Regions from separate parts of the Homo sapiens genome. Here all the other regions are linked to region 1. The links are contacts of gene promoters, found by promoter capture Hi-C in blood cells and fetal thymus (Javierre and others, 2016). All regions are on one chromosome and are shown on one strand. The core of a region is centred on a gene start or on the middle of the fragment in contact, and the rest is flanking DNA. Distances in the headings are between cores, read along the strand shown. Region 1 holds the start of DISP1 (dispatched RND transporter family member 1). Region 2 overlaps DISP1 (dispatched RND transporter family member 1). Region 3 overlaps DISP1 (dispatched RND transporter family member 1).

Region 1 (4,034 bases), core at 1,151-3,650:
GAGACTTTCTAGGCCTGTTTGAGTTCAGTGTTCATATTTGGTCTGGTTTGCTGTGGCAATGAGTATGGTTCGTTCAGCTCAGTGCCCATTCAGAAGAGACTCTTGGAGCACATTATCTTAAACAAGGATTGGAAATGAATATGCTCCTTAAGATTATTTTGGTTGCAAGCAGCAGCAATCTTCTTTGACTAGCCAAAAAAAAAAAAGTTTTGGAATTATACAGGGATATCTCCTATAACCAAAGGAAACAGGGCAGGTCCTGGATCTTTGGCAAAGGGTGTTAATAGATTTTTTCTTTAGGGAACTGCCATTTGTGACTCAGTTCTACTGAGTAACTATATTCTCTCTGTGTTTCTCTATGCCTCATTTAAGATTTCTGGGGCAAAGAGTCTAAATGGTCTGGTTTAGGATATGCCCACCTCTGAATTAATCTGTTATGTAGACAAGGGACATGGTAGCGCAACCAACTTGTCTCAGTTTTCGCAAAACTATCCCAGTTTAAGCACCGAAAGTCCAGCATCCTGGTATCCCCCTGTCTTTAGCAAACCAGAGTAGCTGGTCACACTAGGACATGGTCGCTTGTGCATATGTGGCCCATAAAAGGACTGCCTCTATGTATTTCAGCCATTCCTACAAAAAAAGGAATTGTGAGAAGCTATAAGGAAACATTTCACAGAGTGTCTATTACATTCTACTTCTTGGCACCCAGCGTGGGCACACACACACACACACACACACACACACACACCCCCCACATCACACCACATACACACTCTCTTCTTTCCATCCTTTCAAAAATACACCTTGCCGCTATGTGAATCAGTTATTTCAAGTATCACCACAAATGGACTACTAACCTTCCCAATGGGAGAAAACCCAAACGCGTGACCTTTTACTTCACTTAGAGTTGATGTTATGCCCTCTAAGTACAGACTTTCTACACGATATCCATTCCTCATTTTCTTCTACTGTAATCCTATCTCCATATATTGCAATGTATGGCCTTTTGCTGGCAAAAGGAGAAAAAAAGAAAAATGTATGTATTATACCATTCCTTTTTAAAAAGGCAAAGAAAGGGCTTGGTGTGCAAGAGAGTATTTATTAAACACTGGTAGCAAAGAAAACAAACAAAAAATGCAACAGTCCTCATTACTGTAGCTGGTGTTGAAGCTTCTTTCTTCTGGGCCCATTCCATAGTTCCCTGTGACTTCAGTTAGCATCTCAGTTGGTTGGGGTGATTTGCTCAATGCAGCAACCTGAGGGGTATGATCCCTTGTGGTCCTGCCTTTATAGGGTTGTGGTAGCCGTCTATTGCCTTTACATCTGGGTATGGCAGTTCAAGAAAGCACCCTCAAGGATAAAACATGCTATTCATGATGTATTATTTTTCTTTGATGACTAGGACAATCCCCCTAGTCAACCCCATGACTCACTGTTTTGTCTATTCCCTTAGATGACCCCACGGATTCCGTTGCACGGAGTCTCTGAAGTCCAAAATTTTTAAGCATAGGGCACAACGTTCTTCATGATTTGGCCTTGTCTCTTCTCATTATGCTTGCTCTTGCATCTGCCATCTGACACTTTGCTTAACTCCTGGCCAGCTACCGGTACAAGCCAAGCTCTCACTCCATAACGTCCTTCTTCTCTGCATGCCCTTCTCCACTGTGCCTGTCCTTTAACTCTTATTCATCATTTATTTCAGTCTCAATTGAAGAGTCATTATTTCTAGAAAGCCTTCTCCGCCCAGCTCTCTACATTGCACCGTTCCCTACAGCACCACCAGAGTGCCTCTAACACTTGATGGTTTCATTGCTTATATATTTTTGTTTCTGTGCATAAGCCTCCCGAGGGAGCCGCCGCTGTTCGATTTATTCTATAGCTAGTTCCTCGCCCTGAGTGTAAGCCTCACGAGAGTGGGGCTGTCCTCTGTTCGCTCTATCCCCAGCCCCTACAGCAGTGCCTGGTTGTTCACAGGCCTATATAGCAGGTGATAATAATCTGAATAATGAAAGAAGAAACACTGTCTTGTGGCGTGATTTACTTCTGTTTTTACTTATGTCAACTTTTAACTAGATTGTGAGGACAGAGGTCAGTGTCTGAGTCATCTTGTGCCTCACTGGGCTTGGGCAGAATAGACGCTTGGTCAAGCATTTGCACACTGGTCGATGGATACACTAGAAAGAGCAGGAGCGCGAGAGGGAATTTTTTTGGCGCCTGCCTCGCCCTTTCAAGCCAAGCCCCTCTGCCCTCTGCCCCTTGCCAGCCGCCCGTCGCCCGCCGCCGGCGATCCCTCTCCCGGGGAGCGGTAGTCAAGCGAGGCCAGCGGGCCGGGAGCGGGCCGGGAGCGGGCGAGGGGCGGGACTTCCGGTCCCGCTCGCGACGCGGACCGCGCCAGGCGGAAGCCCGGCTCCGGGCCAGCATCCGAGAGCCCGGACTGGAGGTGAGTTCGCAGCCGGAACGTTGCAGGCACTTGTTTCCTCAGTGGATGCCTTTCGGCGCGCCGCCGCCCGGCGCCGCGGGACTGGGAGACCGGGTAGGGACGGGAGAGTCGGCATCTCCCGCGCGTGTGGAGGGAAATCCGGGACCCCAGGCTTGAGAGAAGGGCCAGGACTGAGAACGGGGAACCAGGAGAGCCCTAAGGGCAGCCTTTAGGGACTGAGGAGGGAGGCACCGGGGACCCTGAGGCCAAAGAGGCCCTGAGACTGGAGGTTGCGGATGACACGGGGCAGAGTTGCATCTCGGAGGAAAGTAGTCATTCGTGGGGGCGTGTCCCGGGTCCTGGCGGATTGACTGAGAGGATGGCAGGAGATGGCAAAGGTTGGCTTCCAGGGAGAGGTTACAGAGGAGGGAGTCAGTCCTTCTCTGAGGGTCGTAGGTGAGAAGGACGTCTTGACCTAACGAACCAGAAAGATGACCAGCCACCTATTGGATGCTGAACTCCTATTGCTTCATTTGCAATTCATGCAGTTTGTTTTTTGTTTTTAGAAATATATCCCGCTCCGCGCGTGTGGATTTCGGGAAAATATTGTATATTCCTAGGGACCGCTCGAATTCTTGCTTCACCCAGATTCTGCGTGTCTTTGTCAAACTGATAGTAGTTGAGAGTTCTCTTCACCCAAGGAAGACAACCAAAGTTTTCCTTTTGGACTCTTCTCTACCCTGCAGAGTTTAGCTTGTCTTATTTCCCTTGTCATGGGATGAACTAAATGCGTTCAGAATTATGGTGATAATCACATGGAAAGCCAGTGCTGTCAATGTTTGCAGTTTCAACTCATTGTTTTTCTGTCCAACTTTCTAACACATTTTTTCTAAAAGCTATTTTGTTGGGTTTAGTCTTTTAGTTTAACCAATAAAGGCAATTTTACATCAGGGTGCAGCAAATTACTAGCAGTTCTTAAGATTTTACTGTTCCTTTTTATTTCTGCTGTAAGGAAATATATATATATATATATATATATATATATAAATATTTGCCATTGTCAGTGTTTTTTAAAAATATTGATAACCCAAGATCTGTTGTTACACGCACATTAGCACATTTAGTTTTCCCCAGTGGCCAGTGTTTGGTATGTGGGCTCATTATTATTACCAAAGGTAATTATTGATTTAGTTATTATTTACCTTGCATTTATGTTTTATTGGATGTGATTAATATGTGCTTCCTAATCTACATAATATAGTGTTTCACTCAGTGTAATTACAAAGATTCTCCTAGCTTTTAAGTAGGTAGTAAGTGAATTGGATTTTTGCCACAAAGTGAGCAAGGTAGCTAGGAAGAATCATAACACTGTCACTGATGGAGGGTGAGATCTGATGATTGCTTTGCTTGTTTCAGGTGTTTCACATTTCAAATGTTAGAAGTTTTTGTTTTAAAAATTACTGTATTAGTACAGGTAACTTTTAGATCTGATTTGGTGGTCTGACTTGAACTAATTCAGGAAAACTAGAACATTTTATATTTATTGGTACTGCGATATCTTGCTAGCTTATAAATTCTTGATGGCCTTGAATATCTGTGCTTGAGTGAAATACAC
Region 2 (4,034 bases), core at 992-3,491, 180 kb after region 1:
CAAGAATCCAGATTTGAATGTGGAGCCATTAATTCTCTAAATGTTGGCAACAAATTCACTACCCAAAATTTGCTGTAACATGGAGTCAGCCTGATTACTCTGCAGCTGCCAGAGAAGAAGGAAGGCACAGCCTAGAGGACATGAATATAAGTATGTAAGCCATTGATTAGCCATAGTGATTAGGATTGAGGAATTGTGGATAGTATAATTTTTAATTAAGTGAATATTAACATTAAAGCTCTTTTGATTTCAGCTTTTGCTGTTGGTGTTGAAAATCCCTCTTAAATGTATTTTTTCCTGTCTTATTAGAACACTAGATGACCTGATTGGATCTTTGATGTTTCTGGAGTTTACCAAGTCTCAGGGTCTTTATTTTGATCACTTACTCTGTATAGTAATAGATAGTAGGAGATGAGGCAGAACCTTATACTGATCCCAGGAAGCAATACATGTTTCCTTTTCTGTCTCTTCTCTTAAAAAACATTAGGAAATTGAACTCTGGTTACTTGCATGTTCTGGCTGGTTTATTTCTCTCAATCAAAGTATTAGTATATATTATTGCTTAACCAACATCTGTTAGTTATGATCTTAACCAGGAAAAACATTACATTTCAATAGTCAACAGTAAATGCTGTCTCATAAGTAGATTCTGCCTTGACTAAAGCCATTACCAGCTCTATGTAAATGAAATGCTTCAGTTTCTACCAGGCTGATTTTGCTCTCCAAAATCAGTCAACATGAGATAATAGCCAAAACTTCATGATCATAAATAAAAACTTTTATAATAAAGCTTTATTCATAAATTTACCAGCTTATTTGTTAGCACAATTAGACATTTTAACTATCATAAAATTAATCTTCTTTGTTTTATGTGGTTCATATTCTTTAATACGTGGTTCATATTGTTTCTGTTCTGAGGATACAGAAACAATATTGTTGGGCATCTATTATTATCTCATTTAATTCTCACAGCTATTTGAGATAGATATTGCTGTCTGCATTTTACAAATGAAGAACCAAGGCTCAGAGAAGTTGTTAGTTGCCTAAGGTCACGTAGCTAGTAAATGACAGGACCTGGTTATATCCTAATCTGACTTTAAAGACCATGCATGCTCTTTCTGGTATATCATACAACCTCCCTTATTCAGAAACATATTTTTTTGTTAATCTGATTTTCAAAATATTTTTTCTAGCCTCTAGTGTACCAGAGAGACCATGTACTCGACCAGAATGTGGCCAGCATTCTGTACTTAGTTGGCTGTTTTTAGCGATTTTAAATAGATCACCCACCATCTCTCCTCTCTAGTTAGCTGCCAGGGAGAACATCCCTATAATCCATTCTTGGTATTCCCTAGTGCATCTTTTTGTATTAGGGTGATGTGTTGTGAAATTAAGAGGGATATATTCAATTCGTTTCCTGTTGTAAATTCCTGTGGATTTTTCTTCCTATAGTCTGACCAAAAATAGATTTGCTATATAATTCATACAATTTTAAGATGTAGTGAGTAGACAAAGGCTTTGCGCTAAGACAATATTATGGCATTGCTTTTTTTTTTCTTTTAACATTTTCTCCTGGAATTTATCAAAGGAAAGAATTTCCTGCTGCTAATGAATCATCCATGTGGTTTCCCAGTTTGAATTATTTCCAAATCCTGAGTCTTATGAAATAAATGAATAATTTATAAACCTTTTTCTTTCCTTTTTTTTTTCATATCACCAGGTGACCGATATTCCAGAGTGGTATTTACTTCATCTGGAGGGGAGACATTATGGAATTTACCTGCAATTAAATCAATGTGCAATGTAGATAATTCCAGGGTATGTAAGATAAAAACTAAAATCTCCTTAGCACAAATAAGGTTGTATTATTGAAACTCCTTTTACTGCTGACCCTGGTTTCTGATCAGATGAAAGTACTTCAGAGGCTTACCTACTGAGGAGTAAACTCCAGCAGGCCAGCTTTGCATTCTTTCAGATCCCAGGATCAAAGTGTCCGTGTTTCCTTCAACTTTAAAACATACCATCTTCCTTTTTCTTTCCCATTCATGATCTCTGGCTGTTGATGGTGTTTTCTGTTATTTCACATAGTATTTCTTTTCAGTATAATATTTAAGACTGTTTTTCTTCTTTTGTTGTATTTTTATTTCCTAACCTAGTTTCATTGTTCCCTATTTCCTGCCCTGAGGCAGTTGTCAGCATCTTAATTGTGCAATGAAATGCCTGCCTCTCTGGCAATCACTGGGTCATTTGGGCCAGTGACCTCAAAGGGAAATTTAGGGAGCAGGCTGGGAAAGGGGACATCAAAGAGCATAAATACAGTATCTATGTAAATGACCACAGTAATCCAATCCAAACTGCCCTGAATGCTAAACACCTTGCTGCTTCGGGAGACACCGGGATGCAAGAAGACAGGCGCTTTGTCTCTCAGTCTTCTCTACAGCCAAAAACATGTCCGCATCAGAAAATGTAGTGAGCTTCTGGGTTTGGAAGAGCTGTCAATTTCATATGTTCAGAGATAGTTTCTCTAAATAGAAACTGCTATCTGATGTCACTAATGAACTTGTCCAAGCATAGCAACCAGCATAAAAGGAACTCTTTGTGTTCTCAGCATAACTCTAAAATGTAAAATGACTGGTTAAAAAATCGAATCATGTGCCGTGCTGAGAGCTAGCCTGACCACCTCATGCAATCACCTGTTCGGTCAACAGGGAAATTTCTTAATGAAATAGGCAGTAGAAAGGAAAGAAGAGATCACCCAAACCAGCAGTCTCATTGTACTAACATGAGTACCTTCTAAGAACTAAGTATCTTAACCAGGTAACCTAGTTAGTTGGTCCCAGACCTCCCAGATTTACCCCATCCTTCATTCTAAGAGGCTGTTTGTACATTTTGAAAATGACTTTCCAATCGACTGAGGTATCAGGATTTTCTGTCAGTGCTATCTTCCTTTCACATAGACCAAAGCCACAAACGATCTATAAATAGACCAAAGTTTCTTAATTGGTGATCAATTTTTATTTGTGATGTTTTCTTCTCTTCTACAGCTATCAGTTCCTTATTTGAAGGCTATGAACCTATTTCTCTTTGTCATGCATTAGGATACTTCTTATACAGAAAATTAACTCTAAAGTTGTAAATGTGTAGCGAAATTTACTATGTGCAAGACTTTATGCTGGGTACTTGTACATCACTCACAGTGGATCTGTGACCTTGGAATTTACAATGCATTTTACACGGATGATAAATTAAGCTAAGAGAAGCTAAGCCAGTCTGGTTACTTTATAATCTCACCTTGGATGAGTACAGTTCATTAATTTCTATTCCTTCTTGTCCTCATTCTTCTACCTTTGGTTGATCTTCAGACCTTCCCTTTCCTGAAGACTCTGAAGTGATTGAATTCACTCAGTTAATTAATAGCTGATATTTAGTGAGTATTTACCATGTGCCAGGAAGTGTTCTAAATACTTTAATACATTATTTCATTTAATCCCAATGACAGTGTTGTGAATTAAATACTAAATAGCCCATTTTTCAGTTGAGGAAAGTTCACATCTTTGGTCAGGGGCACTTCCAGGATTGGAACCCAGCCAAGTTGAACTCCAGCGTCTGCCTTTACCCACCCTGCTTTATGCTTCTAGTGAGGAAGATACCTCCCCCGTTTTGTTTCCTGTATATGCCATTTCCCACACAAATGAAGCTTAAAAAGTCACTGTGGTCTGGAATAAGTATCCTTTTTTTTCTTAAAGAGCTAGCAATTTATTCCATGAGTACATGTTAGACTCTGAGACTCAAAAGCCAGTAAGCAATAGTACGCCATGGTGGCTTTCATAAATAAAAGTAGTATAGTCTCTCATCTCTCCTCTCTCTCTGTCTCTCTCTCTCTCTCTATATATATATATATATTTGTAAACTACCTCAACATGATTTATATAGATAGATAGATGATAAAAATCATCATGTTGAGGTAGTTTACAGAAAAGCATATGCAAAGGATGAGATAAATAAGTTGAATGAAATACATGAAGGGAAAACAA
Region 3 (4,034 bases), core at 967-3,466, 160 kb after region 1:
AGAAACTTCAGAGGGATCTAATGTTTTCCTAGGAGGTTTCTTTGTGGTAACCTCAATTTTTCTTTTCCAACTGATGTTGACAGTCTCTACTTACTGTCTCAAATTTTTTTAACATAAAATGAAATCTTTACTCAAGCAGAAAGACTGTGATGAATCTATAGTTGTTTCTCTCCAGGGAGTAAATTAGTCATAGATCCATGAATTTCTATTTAGTTAAAAGAAAAAGTTAGTGGCAGAGAGAGGGTTTACATTTGTTACAACCCAAATGTCTGTAACAAAATACATTTCTTTGCTCAGTACATGTTCCAGAATTATGGCTGTGAGGATAATTTTAGTTCCAAAGATAGCAAAATCTCCTAATTTCTCTTGGAAATTCAAGATGTATTTTTAAGAATGCATAAGTGAAAAAATGGGATTGAAAAATTAAGATTTTTGTATACAAGTGATTTGCTTCCTTGTCCACTGCCTTACTCTCTGGAAAAACACATTTGCTTTCATAGCTCATTAATAGTTTCATCACTGGTGTTCAGATAGCATATTCTTTTTTTTGAGACGGAGTTTCGCTCTTATTGCCCAGGCTGGAGTACAATGGCGCGATCTCGGTTCACCGCAACCTCCGCCTCCCAGGTTCAAGCGATTCTCCTGCCTCAGCCTCCTGAGTAGCTGGGATTACATGCATGCACCACCATGCCCGGCTAGTTTTTGTATTTTTTTTTAGCAGAGATGGGGTTTCTCCATGTTGGTCAGGCTGCTCTTGAACTTCCGACCTCAGGTGATCTGCCAGCTCTGGCCTCCCAAAGTGCTGGGATTACAGGCATGAGCCACCACGCCCGGTCAGCATATTCTTTTTTTTTTTTTTTTTTTCAAAGAGGGCTGACAAATATTGTTTTATTTGTTAAGGACTTAGTTGTCTTGTCTTGGAAAGGCTTAATTACAAATATTTTTTGTCTAACTCCCATAACTTTACATGTACTTCTTAGATTACTTGTCACTATATTTTTATGACATCATTGTCATTTTCTTTTTTTTTTAAATTCTTTTTTTTTTTTTTATTATACTTTAAGTCTTAGGTATATGTGCACAACGTGCAGGTTAGTTACATATGTATACATGTGCCATGTTGGTGTGCTGCACCCATTAACTCGTCATTTAACATTAGGTATATCTCCTAATGCTATCCCTCCCCTCTCCCCCGACCCCACAACAGGCCCCGGTGTGTGATATTCCCCTTCCTGTGTCCATGTGTTCTCATTGTTCAATTCCCACCTATGAGTGAGAACATGCAGTGTTTGGTTTTTTGTCCTTGCGATAGTTTGCTGAGAATGATGGTTTCCAGCTTCATCCATGTTCCTACAAAGGACATGAACTCATCACTTTTTATGGCTGCATAGTATTCCATGGTGTATATGTGCCACATTTTCTTAATCCAGTCTATCATTGATGGACATTTGGGTTGGTTCCAAGTCTTTGCTATTGTGAATAGTGCCACAATAAACATACGTGTGCATGTGTCTTTATAGCAGCATGATTTATAATCCTTTGGGTATATACCCAGTAATGGGATGGCTGGGTCAAATGGTATTTCTAGTTCTAGATCCCTTCCACAACGACTTCCACAATGGTTGAACTAGTTTACGGTCCCAGTGTAAAAGTGTTCCTATTTGTCTACATCCTCTCCAGCACGTGTTGTTTCCTGACTTTTTAATGATTGCCATTCTAACTGGTGTGAGATGGTATCTCGTTGTGGTTTTGATTTGCATTTCTCTGATGGCCAGTGATGATGAGCATTTTTTCATGTGTTTTTTGGCTGCATAAATGTCTTCTTTTGAGAAGTGTCTGTTCATATCCTTCGCCCACTTTTTGATGGGGTTGTTTGTTTTTTCTTGTAAATTTGTTTGAGTTCATTGTAGATTCTGGATATTAGCCCGTTGTCAGATGAGTAGATTGCAAAAATTTTCTCCATTCTGTAGGTTGCCTGTTCACTCTGTTGGTAGTTTCTTTTGCTGTACAGAAGCTCTTTAGTTTAATTAGATCCGATTTGTCAATTTTGGCTTTTGTTGCCATTGCTTTTGGTGTTTTAGACATGAAGTCTTTGCCCATGCCTGTGTCCTGAATGGTATTGCCTAGGTTTTCTTCTAGGGTTTTTATGGTTTTAGGTCTAACATTTAAGTCTTTAATCCATCTTGAATTAATTTTTGTATAAGGTGTAAGGAAGGGATCCAATTTCAGCTTTCTACATATGGCTAGCCAGTTTTCCCAGCACCATTTATTAAATAGGGAATCATTTCCCCATTTCTTGTTTTTGTCAGGTTTGTCAAAGATCAGATAGTTGTAGATATGTGGCATTATTTCTGAGGGCTGTGTTCTGTTCCATTGGTCTATCTCTCTGTTTTGGTACCAGTACCATGCTGTTTTGGTTACTGTAGCCTTGTAGTATAGTTTGAAGTCCGGTAGCATGATGCCTCCAGCTTTGTTCTTTTGGCTTAGGATTGACTTGGCGATGCAGGCTCTTTTTTGGTTCCATATGAACTTTAAAGTAGTTTTTTCCAATTCTGTGAAGAAAGTCATTGGTAGCTTGATGGGGATGGCATTGAATCTATAAATTACCTTGGGCTAGAATCAATATATAAGCTGGGCACAGGGGCTCACGCCTGTAATCCCAGCACTTTGGGAGCCTGGGCGAGAGTGTCACTTGAGCCCAGGAGTTTAAGACCAGCATAGGCAGCACAGGGAGACCCCACATCTACAAATAAAAAATCTAAAAAATTAACTGGGTGTCATGGCGCACGCCTGTGGTCCCAACTACTCAGGAGGCTGAGGTGGGAGGATTACTTGAGCCCAGGAAATTGAGACTACAGTGAGCTGGCCCACTGCACTCCAGCCTGGGTGACAGAGCAAGACCTTGTCTCAAAAAAAAAATTTAAATTTAAAAATTTTTAAATAAAATTAATTTATAGTTGTAGTGATGGTTGCATAACTCATGAAAGTACTGAAAACATGGAATTGTACACTTAATTGGGTGAATTATGTGGTATATGAATTATATCTCAATAAAACTCATTGAAAAATCAATGTGTAATTGTATTTGAAAATACAGCTTTTGGGGGTTTTTGGTCTTTTGTAGATTCACCAGAAAAACTAAGTGTGCTTCATGGCTTCTTCAGATGTGAACGTGTTCACTGAAAGCCCAGTCTGTGTAAAGCTGCTAAGCCCTCACCAGCTCACTGGAGTGGCCCTGCACTCCGTCCCTCTATGCATACTTGGATAGCCCTGGCCAGCTGAGCGCTGCAGGTCAGGAGGCTGCTGTCTCCTACAGCCACACACTTCTGCTCCCAGCATTTGACAAGTGTGCTTACCAAACCCACGCATGCCAGTTGGCTTGTTTTGGTAATTATGTTATCTGATTAATGTTTTTAGTTCACTTATATATAGATGCTAAAAGAAAAAGTTGTTTTCACGAAAAGAAAATTGTAGCCTTAGGAAAAAAAGGTTAATTGCTACAAAAAAATTTTACTGCTGAATTAGGCATGGAAGAGAAAATTGTAAAAGATCTGGGGAAAAAAATCATCAAAATTTAGTTGTGTATTGTAGTCAGTATATCCAGGATACTCAAAAGTATCCAAAGTCCTCAAAAACTCAGTCATAGACAATGCAGCAGGTCTATGGTTTATGTAAGAACAGATTAACATTTATGTTTAAGTTACTATTAGATATTTAAGGAATGTATGTAGAACTTCAAAAAATGTTTCTCTTTAATTAACCTTTCTGATTAACCAACAAACTAATGGTTCCTGCAGCATTGAACAGAGAGCCTATACTGTAGGATACAGAGGCACAGAGAGAAACTTACAAAGTTTAGTAAAATGTTGAAAGAGTTTAGGATTGACAAATAGGAATGGGCTGATGTAACAAAGTGTGTGTGTGTGTGTGTGTGTGTGTGTGTATAAGAGAGAAACAAAATAAAAATTACCTATATTAATATTTATGTCCCTAGCTTCTTGCTTTTTTAATTCATTGTCTACTGATTTCAAAGC

What was found. The method cuts DNA at HindIII sites, captures the fragments that hold promoters and counts their contacts. A CHiCAGO score of 5 or more calls a contact.
Region 2: a fragment that was not itself captured here is called in contact with the fragment with the promoter of DISP1 in region 1 in 6 of 17 cell types (megakaryocytes, endothelial precursors, M1 macrophages and 3 more); the score reaches 12.2 in megakaryocytes.
Region 3: a fragment that was not itself captured here is called in contact with the fragment with the promoter of DISP1 in region 1 in 1 of 17 cell types (megakaryocytes); the score reaches 7.1 in megakaryocytes.

The regions. Positions count from the first base shown.
Region 1 is chr1:222,812,639-222,816,672 of GRCh38, forward strand. It overlaps DISP1 (dispatched RND transporter family member 1), which reads left to right and starts at 2,401. Exons shown (of 9, transcript NM_001377229.1): 1 at 2,401-2,440. RefSeq lists an enhancer at 1,792-1,851 and silencers at 2,092-2,171, 2,262-2,361. The HindIII fragment of the contact is 6,781 bases long and covers 1,169-4,034 here.
Region 2 is chr1:222,993,165-222,997,198 of GRCh38, forward strand. DISP1 (dispatched RND transporter family member 1) reads left to right here. Exons shown (of 9, transcript NM_001377229.1): 8 at 1,721-1,818. Among named protein-coding and RNA genes, the nearest start is that of TLR5, 150 kb to the right of the region's middle. The HindIII fragment of the contact is 2,907 bases long and covers 789-3,695 here.
Region 3 is chr1:222,976,498-222,980,531 of GRCh38, forward strand. All of the region lies in intron 3 of DISP1 (dispatched RND transporter family member 1), which reads left to right. Among named protein-coding and RNA genes, the nearest start is that of DISP1, 160 kb to the left of the region's middle. The HindIII fragment of the contact is 5,518 bases long and covers 1-4,034 here.